Linked DNA regions of Homo sapiens: region 2 is linked to region 1. Evidence: promoter capture Hi-C in 16 types of primary human blood cells and fetal thymus (Javierre and others, 2016). All regions are on one chromosome and are shown on one strand. The core of a region is centred on a gene start or on the middle of the fragment in contact, and the rest is flanking DNA. Distances in the headings are between cores, read along the strand shown.

The links. The method cuts DNA at HindIII sites, captures the fragments that hold promoters and counts their contacts. A CHiCAGO score of 5 or more calls a contact.
Region 2: the fragment with the promoter of GNB2 here is called in contact with the fragment with the promoter of LAMTOR4 in region 1 in 3 of 17 cell types (total B cells, neutrophils and monocytes); the score reaches 6.3 in total B cells.

What each region holds. Positions count from the first base shown.
Region 1 is chr7:100,144,972-100,151,159 of GRCh38, reverse strand. It overlaps LAMTOR4 (late endosomal/lysosomal adaptor, MAPK and MTOR activator 4), which reads right to left and starts at 2,242. Exons shown (of 4, transcript NM_001008395.4): 1 at 2,185-2,242; 2 at 1,581-1,661. The coding sequence starts at 2,187. RefSeq lists silencers at 1,673-1,762, 1,773-1,862 and enhancers at 1,402-2,014, 2,163-2,272, 2,543-2,602, 2,627-3,239. The HindIII fragment of the contact is 7,868 bases long and covers 892-6,188 here.
Region 2 is chr7:100,668,128-100,674,989 of GRCh38, reverse strand. GNB2 (G protein subunit beta 2) reads right to left here and starts at 1,250. Exons shown (of 10, transcript NM_005273.4): 1 at 1,067-1,250. RefSeq lists enhancers at 151-230, 431-640 and silencers at 1,071-1,250, 1,501-1,580, 1,591-1,720. The HindIII fragment of the contact is 20,016 bases long and covers 1-4,846 here.

The sequences.
Region 1 (6,188 bases), core at 993-3,492:
GAGGTTGCAGTGAGCTGAGATCATGCCACTGCACTCCAGCCTGGGCCACAGAGCGAGACTCTGTCTCAAAAAACAAAAACAAAAAAAAACAAAAACAAAACTCTTCTCTCCTTGCTCCTCCTTCTTACCACCACTTGCCCAGTCTCATCTCTTTTTTTTTTTGTTTTTTTTGAGACGGAGTCTTGCTCTGTCGCCCAGGCTGGAGTACAGTGGTGTGATCTCGGCTAACTGCAACCTCCACCTTCCAGGTTCACGCCATTCTACTGCCTCAGCTTCCCGAGTAGCTGGGACTACAAGTGCCCGCCACCAGGCCTGGCTAATTTTGTTTTTGTATTTTTAGTACAGACGGGGTTTCACCGTGTTGGCCAGGATGGTCTCGATCTCCTGACCTCGTGATCCGCCCGCCTTGGCCTCCCAAAGTGCTAGAATTACAGGCATGAACCACCACGCCCAGCCCAGTCTCATCTCTTAATGACGCCTCCTTCTGCCCATCTTCACATCACTAACAACAATATTGCTCAACCACCTCACTGGGTCTTGTTTCTGTTTTAAAAAACCTTTCAAACTGTATTACCTTCAAGAATAAGTTCAAGTGTGTTAACCTGGCCTTGAAGATCCTTCACAATTACATCCTCCCTGACCATATCCTCCTCTCTTCCCTCAAACCTTCCCAAATCTTTTCAGCATAAACTTACCATCAGTTCAGATAGGTTAGTGCCACACACCTGCAAATAAGTCCTCCCCCACTGTAAATACTCTCCTTTAAGGTGGGCTGAATTCCTACCTCCCGGAAAGTTAGTTACCTTGTCATAACATGTTGAATTTTTAATATCCTGGATTCCCTCAATAGTCTTTACCACCTGTATTGTTTTCAACCCTTAACCTTAAGCTTTGTCTCTACCTAAGTCAAAAACATCTGGAGACTTAACACTATACAGTACTATGGAACAAAATACAAATGCCTCTTTAAGAAATACCAAATAAAGGCCAGACGTGGTGGCTCACGCCTGTAATCTAGAGACCTAACACCATACAGTACTATGGAACAAAATACAAATGCCTTTTTAAGAAATACCAAATAAAGGCCAGGCATGTTGGCTCACGCCTGTAATCCCAGCACTTTGGGAGGCTGAGGCAGGTGGATCACCTGAGGTCAGGAGTTTGAGACCAGCCTGGCTAACACGGTGAAACCCCGTTTCTACTAAAAATACAAAAAATTAGCAGAGCATGGTGGCACGTGCCTATAATCCCAGCTACTCGGGAGGCTGAGGCAGGAGAATCGCTTGAACCCCGGAGGCGGAGGTTGCAGTGAGCCGAGGTCGCACCACTGCACTCCAGCTTGGGCAACAAGAACGAAACTCAGTCTCAAAAACTATAAATAAATAAATCGCAGCCGTTAGGAGACTAAGATTCCACAGACTGATTACTGAAAGTAATTGCAAAAACTGCAAATACTTTTGTACCAACCTAATAGATGCCAGGCAGGAAACCAGATAAAAGCCGAGAAAAGAAGGGCCAATATTAGAAGGGGTTACCGGGCTGTGTGCACTAAGGGACCCCCTCCCTTTCCCAGAACGCACCGCCAGCACTGCACCTTCACTCAGTACCAGGTAGCCGAGCTGGTCTGGGATTCGCTCCAGCCCCTGGGTCAGCGCAGAAGTCTAGTGGGTAAAGATGCAAGTCGTGAGAAGCATGCTAGAGGGATGGACGGCCCGATACCCTTCACCTGCAAACCCAAGTCTCTGGGTTGACGATGGCCCCAGGTTTTCTCATTCCCCAGCCAGGTCCCTTCCCGGCCCCCTCCCCCCTACATGGTCCTCAATACTGATCTTCCCGAGCCTCCATCTGCCCCCACTCTCGCCCCCGGGCTCCCCTGGCCTTCCACATCCCACCTTTGCTACCCCAAGGGGCCTTTGCTGCCCCACTGGCCCCTGCCCCCAGACCCTCTCTTCACCTCCCTTCGTCTCCGCCCGACCTGCAGACTACCCGCAGCCCCAGAACACCCTCCCACAGACCCCTCCCCAGCATTCTCGTCGCCATCCCTCCCATTTCCATCCCCTCTTCCTCCCCGAGCGGATAGGAGGTGAGGGTGGAGCGCAGGCCCACCAGGGGGAAACCACACAGACTGGGGAGCAGAGACGCTGAACCCCCGGCGGGTCCTCTCGCGCATGCGTCCTCACTCACCATCGCAGTCTTCGGTGCTGGGGGAGCTCCCTACCAGATAGGTAGCTTCCGGCTTCAGGCCCCGGTCACGTGCTTGCAGCCGCTGCGCTCCTCCTTCTGCTTGCGCCACTGGCCTTTAGCCCCGCCTCTAGCATGAGGATTGGACAGTGGCCACGTCGTCAGACCCAACCAGCCAGTGCGAAGCGCTGTTTCCCGGAGGCGCACGTTGATTGGTGATATCCCCTCTTTAACACCCATCTCCCCGCCCCTCAGTGCCTGAGCGAGAGGAAGACGCGGGAGCGTCCGAGGAGGGGAGGATCTGGGAGGGGCGGGAGTAGGCCGGGGTTGACCGTTTGGTCCTGGGCGCACTGTCTGGAGCCAGAGTTCCGCCTGAGCCAGGATGCCCGCTGGTGTGACCCCCCCAAATGAATCCCTTCCCAGGTTTAAGACTGGACCCAAAAACTAGAGAATAAAAGGAAATAACGTGCAATGCATGTGAAAAACTATTCAAGGCTGGGCGCCGTGGCTCACGCCTGTAATCTCAGCGCTTTGCGAGGCCGAGGACGGATCATTTCAGGGCAAGAGTTCGAGACGAGCCTGAGCAACATAGCGAGACCCTCCCCAGTCCCCCCGCTCCAACCACCTCTACAAAAAAATAAGAAAATAAGCCGGGCATGGTGCCTCACGCCAGTAATTCCAGCTACTAGGGAGGCTGATGGAGGAGAATCTCTTGAGCTCAGCAGTTGCAGAGTGCAGTGAGCTATTATGGTGCCACTGCACTCCAGCCTGGGTGCCCTTCCTCTAAAAAAAAAAGAAAAGAAAAGGAAAAAAAAGGTACTCAAATGCTACTTTTTTTTTTTTTTGAGTCGGAGTCTCACTCGGTCGCCCAGGTTGCAGTGCAATGGCGCGATCTCTGGCTCAATACAACTTCCGCCTCCCGTGTTCAAGCAATTCTCCTGCCTCAGCCTCGCGAGTAGCTGGGATTACAGGCGCCCACCACCACGCCCGGCTATTTTTGTGTTTTTAGTAGAGATAGGGTTTCACCATATTGGCCAGGCTGGTCTCAAACTCCTGACCTCGTGATCCGCCCGCCTCGGCCTCCCAAAGTGCTGGGATTACAGGCTTGAGCCACCGCGTCCGGCCCTCAAATGCTACTTTTGTGCCTACTCAAGACAGCTCTTTGTTGAAGACAAGAATTTGTTCCCGAAGTGGTTTTTTTGTCCCCAGATTCAGTCCGGGACAATGTGGTGGTAAATAGAATCCCCAGCTAGCCAATGCAGCTGCAATACTGAATATTCATTCCCTACAGGAAAAAATTAGAAACAGTACCTTGGAATGATACACACACACACACACACACACACACACACACACATCACACAATATATGTAAACATTAGAAATTTTTGTTTTAAATAATTTCTAAACCTGTTGCCATATTAATGTGGTGGAGGCTGTGTTAGTGAAATAATATGAAGAATGATTCTAGAAGCCTGGGCAACATAGCAAGACCCCATCTCTAAAAATTTAAAAATTAACCAGGCATGATACTGCACATGTAGTCCCAGCTACCCGGGAGGCTGAGGTGGGAGAATCGCTTGAGCCCAGGAGGTTGAGGCTGCAGTGAGCCATGATCATGCTACTGCACTCAAGACTGGGTAAAAGAGCAAGATTGTCTCAAAAAGCAACAAAAAAATCTGAATATAATAACAATTGTTAAAGTCTGGGTGTCTTTTAAGACTTGTTAGAAACAGCAATTTCAAGGCTGGGCGTGGTAGCTCACACCTGTAATCCCAGCACTTTGGGAGACCAAGGCGGGTGGATCACCTGAAGTCAGGAGTTCGAGACCTGCCTGGCCAACATGGTGAAACCTCATCACTACTAAAAATACAAAACAAACAAACAAAAAAAAAAAAAACTAGGTGGGTGTGGTGGTGCATGCCTGTAATCCCAGCTACTGGGGAGGCTGAGGCAGGAGAATCCTTGAATCCAGGAGGCGAAGGTTGCAATGAGCTGAGATTGTGCCATTGCACTCCAACCTGGGCAACAAGAATGAAACTCCGTCTCAAAAGAAAAAAAAAAGATTTTGATGTAATAAATTATGGTGGCAGTATTCTTGATATTTAACCATCTTTGTGTTTCTGGAATAAAATCTGCTGGAACAAATTATACTACCCATTTGTTTTACTGCTTTATTTAGAATTTTTAAAATCTATTATGATAAATGAGATTGGGCTGTAGTTTCTTTTTGGTATATTCTTTATCTGCTTTTGGTAGAAAGAGCAGGTTGCCAGATAAAATGAATCAGAGAGTTTCCTATCTTTTTTATCTATGGTCTGCAAATCAAACTGGTTGGACCAACTCACACTCCTCTAGCAATGTGTCAGAGTTCCCAGTTATCTCCAGCTCCATTAACACATGGTATTGCCACACTTTTTGTTTTTTGTTTTTTTTTTGAGACAGTCTTGTTCTGTTGCCCAGGCTGGAGTGCAGTGGCGCAATCTCAGCTCACTGCAACCTCCACCTCCTGGTTCCCGGGTTCAAGCAATTCTTCTGCCTCAGCCTCCCGAGTAGCTGGGACTACAGGAGCGCACCACCACACCCAGCTAATTTTTGTATTTTTAGTAGAGATGGGTTTCACCATGTTGGCCAGGATAGTCTTGATCTCTTGACCTCGTGATCTGCCTGCATCAGCCTCCCAAAGTGTTGGGATTACAGGCCTGAGCCACCATGCCCAGCCAGTATTGCCACACTTTTAGGGTAAAGTTTTTGGATATGCGATGGCTTCTCATTGTAGTTTTTATTTGCATTTACCTAAATATTAATGAGGTTGATCACATTTTCAGACAGGTTTGGCTTTTGGGATATCATCTTTTGTGAAGTATCAGTTCAACTTTTTTTTTTTTTTGAGACAGAGTCTTGCTATGTTGCCCAGGCTGGAGTGCAATGGTGCGCTCTTGGCTCACTGCAACCTCCGCCTCCTGGATTCAAGCAATTCCCTTGCCTCAGCCTCCCAAGTAGCTGGGACTACAGGGGCACGTTGCCATCCCGGCTTTTTTTTTTGTATTTTTAGTAGAGACGGGGTTTCACCGTGTTGCCCAGGCTGGTCTTGAACTCCTGAGCTCAGAGCAATCCACCTGCCTCGGCCTCCCAAAGTGCTACGATTACAGGCATGAGCCACTGCAACTGGCTTATTTATTTATTTTTTTTTTGAGATAGTCTTCCTCTGTTGCCCAGGCTAGAGAGCGGTGGTGCGATCTCGGCCCACTGCAACCTCCACCTCCCAGGTTCAAGCAATCCTCCTGCCTCAGCCTCCCGAGTAGCTGGGATTACAGGCACGCACCACCAGGCACGACTAATTTTTTTGGGTTTTTAGTAGAAAGGGGGTTTCACCATGTTGACCATGTTGGCCAGGCTGGTCTCAAACTCCTGACCTTAAGTGATCTACCCACCTCGGCCTCCCAAAGTGCTGGGATTACAGGCATGAGCCACCATGCCGGCCCAGTTCAACTCTTTTCTCATTTTTCTATTGAGTTTGTCTCTCTCTTTTTTTTTTTTTTTTTTTCCCGCCCAGGCTGGCTAGAGTGCAGTGGCGTGATCTCAGCTCACTGCAAACTCCTCCTCCCGGGTTCACATCATTCTCCTGCCTCAGCCTCCCGAGTAGTTGGGACTACAGGCGTCTGCCACCACGCCCGGCTAATTTTTTAGCTCAGGAGTTTGAGACCAGCCTGGCCAACGTGGCCTGTTGTGGGAAGTCAGGGACCCCAAACGGAGGGATTGGCTGAAGCCATGGCAGAAGAACGTGGATTGTGAAGATTTCATGGACATTTATTAGTTCCCCAAATTAATACTTTTATAATTTCTTACGCCTGTCTTTACTGCAATCTCTGAATGTAAATTGTGAAGATTTCATGGACGCTTATCACTTCCCCAATCAATACCCTTGTGATTTCCTATGCCTGTCTTTAATCTCTTAATCCCGTCATTTTGGTAAGCTGAGGAGGATGTATGTCACCTCAGGACCCT
Region 2 (6,862 bases), core at 1-2,500, 520 kb before region 1:
GACATTTCCCCTCCTTGTAAGTTCAGCTTTCTACGCCAGTGCCAAGGGGTGACCCTCAAAATCGGGGGATGGGGGGTGCGGGCAGAACTCCTTACTCTACCCAACCCCCAGGCCCGCACAAAGCCTCTTCCACCTACTAGCAGCCCAGGCCTGGCGGCACCGCCGGAGGCCCAGGGCAGAAGGAAGCACGGCTGGAGGAAGAAACTGGGGGCGGGGGCGACGTTCTCAGCCCTCGGTCCCCATCACCCCCCAGGGCCCTCAGCAGCCCCCAGACTCTAGGGATATAGCAGCCGGCGCTCCATAGAGAAATGAGGGTGCAACCGCCTCCGCAGGTCTGGCGGGGCTCAGGAGAGTGACGGGAGGGTCCCTGGATCTGGCAGCTGGAAGGCGCGGGCTGGTGCGGCGCTGCGAAGCGCAGTGGGCCTGGCCCTCCAGCCCCTACGACCTCCATTTTGCCTAAAAGAAAGCTGGGCGGGGGGCGGGCGCCTGGGAGCTGGGCTTGGGGTGAGGATCTGTAAAGGGAATAGGGCGCCGAGGGCTCCAGTTTCGGCGAGTGGGGCCAGAAACCACGGGCAGCACCCAAATCGTGGGTAGGGTGGAGACGAAAGGAAGGGTGGCGCGCGGCCTTGCCTGCTTCTCCCCGATTTTGGAGTTGTGCAAGGCGAGGGCCGGCAGGGGTGCGACAGTGGAGGACACGAGGGGTGCTCCCCGGGGGCAGGCGGGAGGGTGGCGGTGGGGAAAGGGGGCGGGGCGGGGCCTAGAGGAAGCCCGGAATTTAGCCCCCCAACTTCCGAGGGAGCAAGAGGCAGTCGGGGCTGGGCTGGGGTCTGGGGTCGGGCAAAAACTTCGCTGATGGTGCGGGGAAGCGCACGCACGGTGGGGGGCGAGGGTTCCCCAGTTCCCCTTCCGGGTTTGGGAGCGACCGGGCAAGAGGGGAAGGGAGCGGAGGTCTGGGGAGTTACGTCCGCTCCCAGGAGGCCAGCCCCGGGAGACCGAAGGAAGAGAGGTTCCCCTGGGGGAAATTGGGGCTGGGGGGCGAGAGGACTCCTTTTGCCAGCGAAGGTACCTGTGGCGGTGGGACTCTGCGGCGGAGGTCGCTGGCGGTGCGCGGGCGGCGCTGTCTTCCTCCGCGGCGGAGGCGGCGGCGGCGGCGGCGGCGGCGGCGGCGGCGGCGCGGATGGATTTCCTCAGTGGCCCCAGCCCCGCCGCCAGCGCTGCCTCCCCAGAGCGGAGGGATCCCGCCCGCCAGTGACGCGGCTGCCGCCGCCGCGCCCAGGACCCGGCTGGGCGAGACCAACTGCCTCGCACTTGGGGGAAGCCAGGAGACAAAACCCCACCGAGGGAGCAAAGACGGGCCCAGTCGCTCCCAAGGTTCTCACCCTACGCTTTGTGGACGCAAACCGTACTCAAAGGGTTTGCTTCACGGAAAGGAGTAAGACATCCCCCCTCTGGGACTGGAGGAGGTGGTACTGGCATATGAGGAGGGTGAGACCGCTCGCTGGTCACGTGATCAGCCTCCCGCCCCGCCTGGAATGGGTGGCTCCAGACTGGGAAGGGGAGTTCGACGCCCCAGTTCCCGGTTGGGCCACGCCCCGGCCCTGAGGAGGCCACGCCCCTCACCAGGGGGCGGAGCTAAAGAGACCTGGACGGGGCCGGCCTCGAGGCTGCTGGAAGAAGAAGCGCGATTCCGAGAAAGTCCCCGAGCGGGAGTGGGTAGGGGCTGATGCGGGCGCCCCGGGAATGCCATGAGAAGGGTCGTGTCCAGGCATTTCCTCAGCCTCGCCCACTGGGCCTTTGTAGACCCCCTTTCAGGGCTTGCCACTGAAATAACAACTCATTTATTGAGAGCCACACTTTTTTTTTTTGAGACGGAGTCTCTCTCTGTCGCCCAGGCTGGAGTGCTATCTCAACTCACTGCAACCTCCGCCGCCCGGGTGCAAGCGATTCTCCTGCCTCAGCCTCCTGAGTAGCTGGGACTACAGGCGTGTGCCACCACACCCGGCTAATTTTTTGTATTTTTAGTAGAGACGGGGTTTCACGGTGTTAGCCAGGATGGTCTCCATCTCCTGACCTCGTGATCTGCCTGTCTCGGCCTCCCAAAGTGCTGGGATTACAGGCGTGAGCCACCGCGCCTGGCCCGACACTTATTTTTTAATTGGAGTACAGTGACGCGATTGTAGGTCACTGCCACCTCAATCTCCTCGGCTCAAGTGATCTTCCTGCCTCAGCCTCCCTAGTACCTGGGACCACAGGCGTGCCCCAGCCACCATGCCCAGCTAATTTTTAAATTTTTGGTAGAGGTGGGGTCTTGCTATGCTGCCCAGGCTGACATATGTTAAGTCTCACAATACTGGGAAATTAAGTGCTAACATTCTCCCCATTTTCTTTTCTTTTCTTTTTTTTTTTTTTGGAGACAGGGTCTCACTCTGTCGCCCAGGCTGAAGTGCAGTGGCATGATCTCGGCTCACTGCAACCTCCGCCTCCTGGGTTCAGGCGATTCTCCTGCCTCAGCCTCTGGAGTAGGTGGGATTACAGGCGCCCGCCACCATGCCCAGCTAATTTTTTTTTGTATTTTTAGTAGAGACGAGGTTTCACCATGTCGGCCAGGCTGGTCTCAAACTCCTGACCTCAGGTGATGTGCCCGTCTCGGCCTCCCAAAGTGCTGGGATTACAGGCGTGAGCCACCGCGCCCAGCCTTCTCCCCATTTTCTAATAGTGGAAAGAGACCTGAGGCTGCAGAGTTTAGATATGAACCCAGGCAGCCAAAACTTTACTGTACATTCCAGTTTATCTGTATGAGCCTCTAGATGAACCCCTTCCTCCAGGGACCTTGCCTGTAAAGGGACAAGAACGTAGGTCTAGGCCTCAGTTTCCACATCTGTTAAATGGGGATGTTGACAGCATCTGCCCTCCAAGTCCCGGATTCTTACTGAGAACCCCATCGATTGTGGAAATGCTTTGGGAAGTTCAAGGCAACGAATAGCCTTCACTGAGTCCTTGTAATTTGAAAGTATCAAAACACGCAGCCATAAGAAAGAACGAGATGGGGCTCACGCCTGTAATCCTAGCACTGTGAGAGGCCGAGGCGGGTGGATCACTTGAGGTCAGGAGTTTGAGACAAGCCTGGCCAATATGGTGAAACCCCGTCTCTGCTAAAAATACAAACATTAGCTGGGCGTGGTGGCACACACCTGTAATCCCAGCTACTCAGGAGGCTGAGGCAGGAGAATTGCTTGAACCCGGGAGGCGGAGGTTGCAGTGAGCCAAAATCACACCACTCACTGCACTCCGGCCTGGGCAACAGAGCAAGACTTTGACTCAAGAAGAAGAAAGAAAGACAAAAGAAGAAAAAGTAAAAGAAAGAAAAGGAGGGAAGGAAGGGAAGGAAAGAAAAAAAGAAAGGAAAGAGAAAGGAAGAGAGAAAAAAGAAGAAATCATGTCCTTTGCAGCAACATGGATGCAGAAAAGAGAGAGAGAGAGAAAGAGAAAGAAAAGAGAGAAGGAAGGAAGGGAAAGAAAGAAAGAAGAAACAAAAGAAAAGAAAAGAAGAAGAAATCGTGTCCTTTGCAGTAACATGGATGCAGCTAGAGGCTTTTATCCTAAGTGGATAAATTTCTGCAGGAACAGAAAACCAAACACTGCATGTTCTCACTTATAAGTAGGAGCTAAACACTGGGTACTCATGAACATAAAGATGGGAACAATAGACACGGGGGATTACTAGAGGGGGGAAGGGTTGAAAAACTACCTATTGGGTACTGTACCCCAGGTGACGGGATCAATTGTACCCCAAACTTCAGCATCACAAGATATACCCATGTACATGGGTACATTCATGTGCACATGAGTCAGAATCTAAAAAGATGAAATTATATTTTAAAAAGTATCAAAACATACTCTTCATTTAGTCTCTGTGAAAGACATTACAAATCACTTTTCAAAAACAATTGTTTTTTCTTTTTTCTTTTTTTTTTTTTTCTGAAATGGAGTCTTGCTCTGTCACCCAGAGCTGGAGTGCAATGGCACAATCTCGGCTTACTGCAACCTCTGCCTCTTGGGTTCAAGCGATTCTCCTGTCTCAGCCTCCCGAGTAGCTGGGATTATAGGAGCATGCCACCAGGCCTGGCTAATTTTTGCATTTTTAGCAGAGATGGGGTTTCATGTTGGCCAGGTTGGTCTTGAACTCCTGACCTCGTGATCTGCCCGCCTCGGCCTCCCAAAGTGCTGGGATTACAGATGTCAGCCACCGTGCCCAGCCTACAATTGTTTTTTCCAAATCGAATATGTTATGAACATAGTAGTTGTCTTTGTAATGGGTACACACACTCACACACACAGAATGATCTGCCTGGTGGGGCAGGGAATTGTAAACATGCCAAAGGGAAAATGAAAAAAGAATCCTGTAGGTTTTCATTATTTTAGGCAATTATGTCCATATCACTTACAAAGCTATTGCCAAATCTGTCTAAGGAAGCAGAGTTTGAAGGTGGGCCGGGGGGGACATCTGGGAGAAATTCGAAAATGGCATAACAGAGCTCTCAATATGAGAAACAAAAGCCCAATATTTTTTTAAAGAAAATATAAACAATCGTATTCGTAGTTAGATGCAAATTCTATTTATGCATACCTGCCAATTCAGTGACATATAAGCAATAGATAACAGATGTCAACTACACATGAGAATTTGGGAGGGACCTCAGAGATAATTACGTTGATTTCCTCAATCTGTAGATGGCCACGATGACTTCCCTAAAGTCACTTAACAACAAGCAGCGCAGGACTACAGCACAATTTTGTCAATCTCAAGAGGGCATGTGTGCTGCTTTGGTTTCTGTGCTAATAAGCTTTCCTGTTTTAACTCATTCCGTTGATATTTACTGAACCGGATGATGTATCAGGCACTGCCCTAGGCAATGAGGATGCAACCTTGAATGACAGGTGCACCCTCCTCATGGAGCTTGCAATCTATAGAGGAGGCAGATGGGCATTGAAATATGGATTAGGGTCAGGCGTGGTGGCTCACACCTGTAATCCCAGCATTTTGGGAGGCAGAGGTGGGCGGATCACTTGAGTCCAGGAGTTCAAGACCAGCCTGGGCAACATAGCAAGACTACGTCGTTAAAAAAAAAAGAGAGAGAAAGAAAGAAATACATGGTGGCGTGCGCCTGTAGTCCCAGCTACTCGGAAGGCTGAGGTGGGAAGATGACTTGAACTCCTGAGGCAAAGGTTGTGGTGAGCTGAATTTCTGCCACCGCACTCCAGCCTGGGTGACAGAGCCAGGCCCTGTCTCAAAACAAAACAAAACAAAACAAACAAACAAAAATGAAAAAATAACAGTGCTTGGCCTGGAGGTATTGTTTACTTCGAGCAGAACATTTGAGATGGAACATATTCTGGGAGGAAGATCAAGAGTTTAAGATTGGGAAGTTTTAGGTTTGAAGTGCCTATGGAGAAAATTTTTTTTGGTGTTTTTGGTTTTGTTTTTTTTGAGACAGGGTCTCACTCTGTCACCAAGACTGGAGTGCAGTGGCGCAATCACAGCTTGCTGCAGCCTCGACCTCCTGGGCTGAGATGATCCTCTCACCTCAGCCTCCCCAGTAGATGGAACTACTGGTGCACACCACCATGCCTGGCTAATTTTTTGTATTTTTTTTTGTAGAGACAGGGTTTTGTCATGTTGCCCAGGCTGGTCTCGAACTCCTGGCCTCAAGCGATCCGCCAGCCTCAGCCTCCCAAAGTGCTGGGATTACCGGTGTGAGCCACCGCACTCAGCCGGATCTCGCTCTGTCGCCCAGGCTGTAGTGCAGTGGCGCAATCTCGGCCCACTGCAACCTCTGCCTCCTGGGTTCAAGTGATTTTCCTGCCTCAGCCTCCTGAGTAGCTGCGACTACAGATACGTGCCACCAGGCCCGGCTAATTTTTTGTATTTTTAGTAGAGACGGGGTTTCACCGTGTTAGCAAGGATGGTCTCGATCTCCTTACCTCGTGATCCACCTGCCTCAGCCTCCCAAAGTGCTGGGATTACAGGCGTGAGCCACTGTGCCCGGCCTCTTTTTTTGTTTTTTTTAACTTTTATTTTAGATTCACGGGGTACGTGTGCAGGTTTGTTATATGGGTAAATTGTGTGACACTGAGGTTTGGAATACGATTGATCCCATCACCCATGTAATGAGCACGGTACCCAATAGGTAGTTTTTCTTTTTCTTTTTTTCTTTGAGACAGGGTCTTGCTCTGTTGCCCAGGCTGGAGTGCAATGGCACGATCTCAGCTCACTGCAACCTCCGCCTCCTGGGTTCAAGTGGTTCGTCTGCCTCAGCCTCCCAAGTAGCTAGGATTACAGGTGTGCACCACCACACCTGGCTAATTTTTGTATTTTAAGTAGAGATGGGGTTTCGCCATGATAGCCAGGCTGGTCTTGAACTCCTGGCCTCAAGTGATCTACCTGCCTTGGCCTCCCAAAGTGCTGGGATTACAGGCGTGAGCCACCATGCCTGGCCCCATTAGGTATTAATAGTTTTCAACCCTTGCCCCATCTTCTTCCTTCTTCCCCCTAGTGGTCCCCAGTGTCTATTGATGCCGTCTTTATGTCCATGAGTACCCAATGTTTAGCTCCTGTTTACAAGTGAGAACATATGGTATTTGGTTTTCTGTTCCTGCTCTAAATTCACTTAAGAGAATGGACTCCAGCTGCATCCATGTTGCTGCAAAAAACATGTTTCTTTGTTTCTTCATTTTGTTTCTTTTTATGGCTGCATAGTATTCCATAACATACATGTACCATTTTCTTTATCCAGTCCACCATTGATGGGCACCTAAGCTGAGTTCATGTCTTTGCTCTTGTGAATAGTGCTGCAAGGAACAT